2 separate regions of the Homo sapiens genome follow, and region 2 is linked to region 1. Evidence: promoter capture Hi-C in 16 types of primary human blood cells and fetal thymus (Javierre and others, 2016). All regions are on one chromosome and are shown on one strand. The core of a region is centred on a gene start or on the middle of the fragment in contact, and the rest is flanking DNA. Distances in the headings are between cores, read along the strand shown.

Region 1 (4,531 bases), core at 2,032-4,531:
ATAATACCAGAATGTGGTTGATGGAGACACTGAGATGGAAAATCAGAGAGAACAAGTAGTGTGGTATAGATTATTTCTCATGTTCCCTCCAGTTCTTGTACCAAACTCAGCTTATATATCTTTCTTGGAACCCTACAGTTTTATTTCATTTTATGACTCCCCCAGCTCCCACATTTCACCATACTCCACAATTAGATTTAAAATGGAAGCATGAAGAATGATACTCTTATCTCTTCCAGGAATTGTGGATCTAAACCTCTGTAGCTCCTCTGTCTGTGTTGCAATCTGGTGGCCCAGTTGTTAAAAATTGGTGTTTTGGGTCCTATCCTGGTCTCCTGTAAGGGATTTTGGATTAGGGAAAATGATAATTTCATAACATCTTATATTCACTTTTTCTTACAATCATGATTCCACCTGTCTAAGATGCTTTCTGACTTTTTTCTTTTTTTGAGGGAGGGTCTCATTCTGCAACCCAGGCTGGAGTACAGTGGCACGATCATGGCTCACTGCAGCCTCGACCTCTCTGGCTCAAGTGACCTTCCCCCTTCAGCCTCCTGCACTACCACTCCCAGCTAGTTTTTAATTTTTTTATAGAAACAGGGTCTCACTATGTTGCCCTATTTTTCAAATTATTTTAAAAAACTCTCAATGGAGTCATTCAGATAGAAGTGAAAATGTGCTTGCCTGCTCTCTTCCAGGTCACATATCTCAGGGAAGAGATCTGGTACCCAACCAATCCACCCACAAGCTAAGCCAAGCATTCAGATTTTGCCCAAACTCTCCTTCCCAATCTTACTTTATCATGCTGCCTTATTTAGAAGTGATGTCTCCCCACATCAACTTCTCTTCCCTTCACTACCCTTCCCTTCCTTTTTCCTCCCTTCCCTTTCTCCTTTTCTCTTTCTCTCTCTGTGTCTCTCATTCAGGACTTCATTTGTTGCATCCATTCTTGCAACAATCTTACAAATATTTTCTTTTCTTTCCACGTTGGCCCTCTTCAACTTGTTCTCCATATTGCCATCACAGTGATTGTCCTAAAATATAAATCTGATCATTTCTTCCCCTCTCCCTGCAGAAAATATGTTACTGGCTTTCCCACTGCCTACTGGATAAATTCCACCTTTTCAGTATGGCACTCAAAATTCTTCACAATTAGGTCTTTAATCCTTTCCTTACCACCTTCTTTTCATACTCAATGTCATGGCATTCCAAACCCTCCCTATTTCTAGATCTCCACACATACAGTATTGCTATGATGTCTTTATCCATGGCTTCTTTCTCAACTTCTTGACCCAATCAGTGTCTGTGTACCATTTCTTCCCTACTCAGAAAGTTCTTCCTTTGCAAACCCTTCTTTAATCATTTTCACCTCCATGGGTCCCTATGAATTCATATGTATTCCTTGTGCACACCTTCTTGTAATCATATTTTTTCTCATGCTTTTGGCTATCTTGTCCACTAGACTGTATGCTTTCTCAAAAATAAATGGATGAGTTTCACTCACAGATGCATGTCAGTGCTTAGGACTGCACCAGTGCTAAAAAAAAAACAACCCTGAATTTATGAATAAGTCAATGAATTAATACATTCTTGGCAAAACCCATGACTTTCTGGCCTACTATAAATTACTGTGTTCAAGGTGAGATTCTGCTTTAGTTTAGGATATAGATATCTATATATATGTCCATATATCTGCAGCTATATATCCATATCCATGTATATCACTGATTTGGGGAATAAGCTATACTTATTAACAATATTACTATGTTAATGGGTCTTCAATATCTATACAATAACGGAAAAAGTACATGCATATTTCTAAATATCTATCCAATAATTGGAACACACACGTATGTATGGATGGATATATTTTTTTTTATTATTGGGTATAGATATCTATTAATAGATAAGTGTATATTTATGTACCTATCTTGTTGGTAAAAGGTGCTTTTATACATATTATTTCATTTAGTCTCCACAAGAAATCCACAGGAAAGGTAATTTTAATCTCAGTTTAACAGATTCACAGAACATAACTGACTTTACAACAAGGCAAAGTTTGTGAGGATAGAGTCTTAACATGAAACCAGGTCCCCAAATTGGTGTCTATCACCTTCCCCATTATTGGTCAGGCTGCCCAAATATCCTTCACATCACCATGGCAGGCTTCATGCTTTGGTTTACTGCCTAAAGCCGAAGCAATTAGGAGGATATCCTATGTGTTGCGGACACTATCTTTTTCCTTCCATAAATGAATTAATGGGCCATGAAATAATTTTAAGAAAAGCTAACTTTTCTGGCCAAGCAGAAGAATAAAAGTAATCACCATGTAATATTGTTGTGAAGACTACCTGGCCCCACACATTAACTCAGCTAATCATTACAGTATTACACGGTGATTATCTGTTCCATTTTACAGATACAGAAATGGAGGCAAACGATTAAAATACACACCTAAGGTCACATGCATCTTGAACCCAAGCAATCTCATTTTAAAATCCGTGTTCATTGTCACAACACTCTATTATGCCCTCTGATCTTTGCATTGCCAATTTAAATCCAACTTTCTCCAACTCAACTTTAAGTACAGGGGTCATACCCCCGTCCTCGCCCCCCGCAACTTGAAACTCCCTGGGAAAGATAACCTCCTGGACCCTGGAAATGAAGAGGCGTATTTAAAAACAAATGCCTCATCCTGGGCACAATTCCAACATTTTATCAAAATCATGAAAGTATAAGAATAGAAGTAAACAAAAAGCTTTCATCGATCCCCTCTCAACCATACCCTGAGCATAAAACAGGTCCTGTACTTTACAGAACTGTATTCCAAATTTTGCTGCTCTTAAAAATTTTTTTTATATCATTGCTTCCCAAATGAATTACAATAACGCAGACATAGAGACTGCTGGAGATCGTGACCTTAAACAGTTAAAGATGTTTGCATATACTGCAGCATGTTTGGTGTGGAGGGTATCTAGAGAGTCCTAAAAAAGCAAAGAGGAAGAAGGTTTGCTGTACGCGTCTGGTGCGGTGGCACCGTTTGCCATGCCCACCTGCTCTATCTCCCGAGTACCCGGGATCTCTCCGTTACAGCTGGTTTGCATTGGGATTAGCAGCTCTTTGCATGAGGTTGTAGCTGTGGATGTGGTTTCTGTAGTGATGGGGCCGACTCCGGAGATCTATTGGCTGCTGGCTTTGTAAATTTCATTCAGTTTGGTCCAATGGCAGAGGGAGAGCCCCGGAGACAGCAGGACCTCTCTCCTCAATCTCTCTTTTTCTTGCAGAACCGTCTCTCTCCCTTCTCTGTCTCTTAGCACAGAGCTCTTATTCAGCCACTAGCTTGGCCCTTCCTGCTTCAATTGTAATGCTTGTTCTGCCCGTCCACAGACTATTGGCGGCAGAAACAACGAATTTCCTCCAAACTAGGCGGTGTTGGTGGCTCTTGCATTCCTCTGGATGAGGAAATCTAGTTGGGGGGTTCCAGAAGGGGAAGGCTCCTGGGCTTTCAATACATCCTCCTGAATCATACCTCGTTTCGGGTTCCCTAGAAAAATCTGGACGTGTAAAAAGAACTCTTAACGGCCGATGCAGCTCTTCCAAAGCTAAGGTAGGTGCAGTTTTAAGACCTGTCTCTGGGACATTATTCTCATTTTAAAAAGCCGTTTAAACATTTTGACTTGCAGCAAAGGATGGAAAGCCTCACTGCAGATACTTGAGCTTCACTTCATCTGATCTTTATTTTTTCCTTTTATGATTATTAATATTATTTTTGGAAAATTTGGACAGGACTTTCTCCCATCTGTCTCGCTGCATTTCTTAGGTGTGGGTGGGAGTGTAGACCTTCATACGGTTTTTACATGCAACCTCTCCACAGAAATATTTGGTTTTATTTTCACTTAAAGAGAAAAATCCAGACCACCGTTGTTTGGAAGCGTTTTGCTGCAATCAGCTATTTGAACGGCTCTGGGGCCGTGTGTGATGTGTTTACAAAGTAGCGCTGCCTTCCACACAAATAAACAGAAGACTGTGGCGGGGAGAGGAGGAAAAAAATATATATGTATCTGCAGTACAGGGAGAAGAAGGAGAGAAGCGGCCAGGGCTGGAGATGGTGAAGGCAGGAAGACTTCTGCAAACTGTGAGGCATGGGAGGCTTTTCTTTTCTTTTTCTCTCCCCCCCCACCCCCCCCCCTTATTCTTTAAGAAAACTGTCAGCTACCACCGCCTGGGGTGCTTTTTTGAGGGGTTGGGGGGGTGCTGTTAACCAGAAAGAAAAAGGGAAAACCGGCTTGGTTGGGGTCGCATTTAAGCGATTTTTTTTCCCTCCTTCATCTCCGGGCCTCGGATAAGATGACGGCTTGGGTGATGCACGAAATAACGCACGTGATTGATTAGACCTGGCTTGGCTTGGCTAGGGAACGATCCAGGCGCGCTGGAGACCCCGCGTGAAGATGAAATGACGGTAGCTCCGGGCTGCTTCTGTAAACCGGGGAGCGGGCTCCATGCACCCCTTTCCCGTGTGTGTGGGTTTCGA
Region 2 (4,531 bases), core at 534-3,033, 860 kb before region 1:
ATAGTTTTGTTTTAATTTTTATTATTTGATCCATCCTTAATTACCAGGCATTGATCAGTGGTTTGAATTGCCCTCCCTGGCTTTCCATTTTAATCTAAAATTCTGCTATAAGTCTATGAAATTGGACCAGAACACAAGCTGTGCCATCAGTGATACTGATAACGAGATTCTAGAGAAAGGTGCTTCTTTGGCTGGAGGAGTTTAGGCCGATCACATTTCAGTGACCCCGGAGAACATTAGACAGCACCTATTGCCACAAAGCAAGCAGCCAGCTGTGGGTAGAACAGCAAAGGCAGTCGGATGCTCATCGCCTGTATTGCCCTGGGACCAGCAGACCAAATAAATGTAAACTGGACTCTTGCAACTGTTTGTTTGAAGATTTGAAAGGAGTTAGTTTATATTTATTTTCATAACTGCTTTATTTCTGTCAGTATTTAATGTTTGCCAAAAAAGGAAACACAGGTTTCCCACACTGTCTCCCCATCAAGTATCACAAATTTGTGTGTCAAGTACCAGAATTTGAGAAAGATAATTAAGATGGTTTAAGGTCATCTCACAGATAGAACCTCAGTCTATCCAAGTTTTCTCCTCCAGGGTCAACCCACTGTATTAGCTTCCTGGTAGTGCTGTGTTAATTAACAAACTCCGTGGCTTAAAGCAGCAGAAACTTAACTGTCTGACACCTCAGAAGGCTAGAAGTCCGAAGTCAAGGTGTGAGCAGGGCTGCACTCCCTCTCAAGGCTCTAGGGAAGGATCCTTCCTGCCTCTTTTCAGCTGCTGGTAGTTGCCGGCCACCCTTAGCTTTCCTTGGCTTGTACCTTCAACTCCCCAATCTCTGTCTCCATTTTCACACGCCCTCCCTCGTCCTGTGTGTCTTTGTCTCCAAATTTCCCTCTCCTTTCTTTGGATTTAGGGTCCAACCTTAATTTAGTATGGCCTCATAATAACTTGATTACATCTGCAAAGACCCTATTTCCAACTAAGGTCCTATTCCCACGTTTTAGGTGAACATGAATTTTGTGGGGAGAGCACTGTCAAGCCAGTACACCTCCACCCATACTTTCCTACTCCCAGCTCAGACTGCCACTGTTCAGGTTGCCCCAGGAGGGCCCTGAGCTGGGGCGCGGACTCAGTCAGTCGTGTTTGGCTGGAGTGTTCCATGAGGTTCAGCCAGTCTTGCCAGAGCCTTGCTCCTCTTCCAGCCCCTCAACCCAATTCCTTTCTCCTGTTTCCTTTCCTTCCACACTACCACACTGTCTTACGTCCAGGATATAGGTTAGTCACTCAATTCCATAAGCCGGATCCTGTGGTGCAAATTCCATAAGTGGCGATCCCTGATATTAGCTTTGAGTTGGTGCCGGGTCCCTAGTAAATTAGGACTGAAGATCTGCACACAGCCAAGGGCCCTCTCCCTAGCAGCAAGCACCTTTTCAAAAGAGCAGAATTCATTTGGAAGGCCTAGAAAAAGGAAGGAGGTGCTCTGCCAAAATCAATGATGTCTGAGAAAGAAGCATGCTCCCTAGAGCTTGGAGAAGATCAGAAGAGGGATAGCCTGAGGCATGGCTCTGCAGTAAATCATTAAGAGACGCCCACTCACAGTGGCTGTGGCTACCAGAGGTTTCCTGTGAGGGAACTAAAAAGCGCACAGTAGTGTTTGTAAGTGATGGTTCCATTTTAATAGATAAACATACAGAACTTATAAAAAATCAAGAATCTATATTAGCCAGATTTCCTAAATTAGTTAATATTTCTTTTAAATTTATACTTAAAGTCACAGTTTTTAAAACTATATATATGAATGTGAATACTATATGCTTTGGGGAATTTGACTTTGGTTATTTTCTAGTGTCAAGGATAAACACAGCCAGACAGTAGTTAAAGCGATCAGCACAGATTTTCTTCCATAATATACTATTGCAATAGAGAAAAGAGACCAATGTGAAACTGGGCTCAACATCAATTATCCCAGAGGTGACTGGGCATTTTAAAGGGAAATTCAGGGAGTAGGGAGGGGTCAGCAGGGGCTCAGCAGAGTTGGGGAAGTGAAAATTGCAGAAAGCAGGAAGAGGGTTTGGTCAGTGTGAAGCCATCTGGGTTTCACTGGTGCTGATAGAAGTCAGGCTCCTGCCCTTCCACAGAGGCTTGTCTGCAGGAGTGGCTGGAACCAACAATCAGTTATTTTGGCAGCCTTGAGTTTTCGTAGGCAAGTACTTTAAGGGGGCTAGAGTCATGTAGCGGTGTGACCTTGAGCTGTTGAACTTGTTCAAGTCTTTATAGGCCAGTGTGGGGGCCTTGTGGAGAAAAAGACTCAGAGCAGCCTGAGTAGAGTCTGGTCCAGGAGACACTTTTGTCACTGAGCATGACCAATCCATTTATCACAATGGTAGCAGCGTGTCCTCATGGAATTATGTTTCCTTCGATAAATCTTGAACAAGAAATAAATGCATCAGCATATGTTTTTAAAAGTTAAACAGATGTTAAACTTAAAGGAAGTTTGCTAAAATCCATTTCGTGGACCCCTTTGTAAATACCTGACCTACACAGCTTACCCCTTATGATTTAAAGTTAACTTGCATCCATTTTATGGAATCCCAGGTGCCTGTTTGACCTGCAGACATCTTTCTCCCTTCTTGGTCACTCTCTCAGGGCATCAGCTCTTCACACAGCAACAGCTTCCTGCATGTGGCCCCTGACTGTCCATTGATGACCGAAGGCTCGTGGACTTGCCAAGTTGCCCACGTAAAACCCAGGGTTCAGAGAGCGAGACAAGTCCTTGCATTGTGAAGTGCCAACAATTCTAGTATTCCAAAGCTCAGTGTTGTTCAGAACATGGTACCCTTGTGAGATCACGTGTGACATTTGTGAAGAACCTGGAACTGATGTTTCCTTAGGAAGCCTCGCAACAGTAAGTGCTTTCAGCTCGCTCAAGGAACTTCAAGTAGGCAAGAAATAAGAATGGAAACCCTGCATTACTCCATCAGATCTTGAAAGTTTTCTCTTGGATAAATGTGCCTGTCAATCACATCGAATCTTATCCCCTGCCTCCATGTGCTATACCACAACAGCGACGTCTGCTGGACCGTGTGTGCTCTCTGGGTACACATTTTCCAGGAGGCAGCATCTTATTAGAGAGTAACAGGTCTGTCTTGTGTAAAGGAGAATGCTAACCGCTTCATGAGAAGGCTCCCCACCATGAACTCGGATAACCGGATGCTATTTTTTTAACTTATTTATTTTTTAATTGACAAATAGAAATCGTATATAGTTATCACACACAACGTGTTTTGAAGTATGTATACATTGTGGAGTGGCTGCGTCAAGGTAATGAACACATGCATCATCTCACTTTCTCATCATGTTTTGTGGGGAGAACACTTAAAATCTAGAATCTGAGTGATTTTCACATAGCCAAATGTTATTTTTAATGACCTTTGCCTTAATTGTCCATTCAATATCGGTCATAGATATTTATTGAGGGCCCAGCATGTGCCAGCCAAGCGTGGCCTCCTAATTGGAAACACAAACCCTGAGAAACTCTGAGCATTGTTGTGTAGTGCAGGGGCCATCCTCACACCCCCACAGCCAGCATTCAGCTTGCTTCATAAGCCATGGATGGAGTCAAAGGAAAACTAGCTCACCTTCCCACTATGTATCTGAAATCACTTTCTATTCCATGCTGCACACATGTACTGCAAGGAAAAGGAATGATTCCTGCCCCCACCACTGCCTTCCATTCCTAAGAACAGAGAGGATGGAGTACGAGGATGAGGAAAACAGACGGCAGGAAATAAGCAGTTTATTCACTGGATGTCTGCATGGGGTCTTGGGAGTGCAGAGGTTGTGACTCATTCTTGAGTGGAAGTTTCTAACCACATACATACAACCGCAATAACTGCAGCCAGCTGCTGGAGGTGTTGTGGTGAATCCCAGCGGGTTACAAGGGTGTGAGAAGCCTGGTAAAGTTTCCAGGAAGTGAAAGCACATGAGCTATGTCTTCACCCGCAAAGATGCAGGTAACAGCTCAGATTCTGAGTCTTAGGAAGAGGATGGAGGCCGGAGGGTGACAGGGTTTCTCTGTAGTCCTCAGGAAGTGAAACTGCCTCACAGGAAATAAAGCAATATCAATCAGGCAGTTTCTTTCTGTGTATATTTGAATATTGTCAATGTTTTAAAAATCACGACGTATTTCTTTTTTTTTCCTTCTTTTTTTTTTTGTTGTTGTTGTTGTTGAGACAGTCTTTCTCTGTCGAGTGCAGTGGTGTGATCTCGGCTGACTGCAACCTCCGTCTCTTGAGTTCCAGTGATTCTCCTGCCTCAGCCTCTCGAGTAGCTGGGATTACAAGCATGTGCCTCCACGCCTGGCTAATTTTTGTGTTTTTAGTAGAGATGGGATTTCACCATGTTGGTCAGGCTGGTCTGCAACTCCTGACCTCAAGTAATCCGCCCACCTCGGCCTCCCAAAGTGCTGAGATTGTAGGCATGAGCCACCATGCCCAGCCAAACCGGACATATTTCTAAGGAACGAGAAAGA

Evidence for each region. The method cuts DNA at HindIII sites, captures the fragments that hold promoters and counts their contacts. A CHiCAGO score of 5 or more calls a contact.
Region 2: a contact is called between a fragment that was not itself captured here and the fragment with the promoter of NLGN4X in region 1, in 1 of 17 cell types (fetal thymus). The highest score is 12.1, in fetal thymus.

What each region holds. Positions count from the first base shown.
Region 1 is chrX:6,227,617-6,232,147 of GRCh38, reverse strand. It overlaps NLGN4X (neuroligin 4 X-linked), which reads left to right and starts at 3,281. Exons shown (of 6, transcript NM_181332.3): 1 at 3,281-3,607. It overlaps LOC105373156 (a long non-coding RNA gene), which reads right to left. Exons shown (of 1, transcript NR_136577.1): 1 at 1,857-4,531. The HindIII fragment of the contact is 2,801 bases long and covers 2,761-4,531 here.
Region 2 is chrX:7,083,587-7,088,117 of GRCh38, reverse strand. All of the region lies in intron 2 of PUDP (pseudouridine 5'-phosphatase), which reads left to right. Among named protein-coding and RNA genes, the nearest start is that of STS, 62 kb to the left of the region's middle. The HindIII fragment of the contact is 6,973 bases long and covers 1-4,531 here.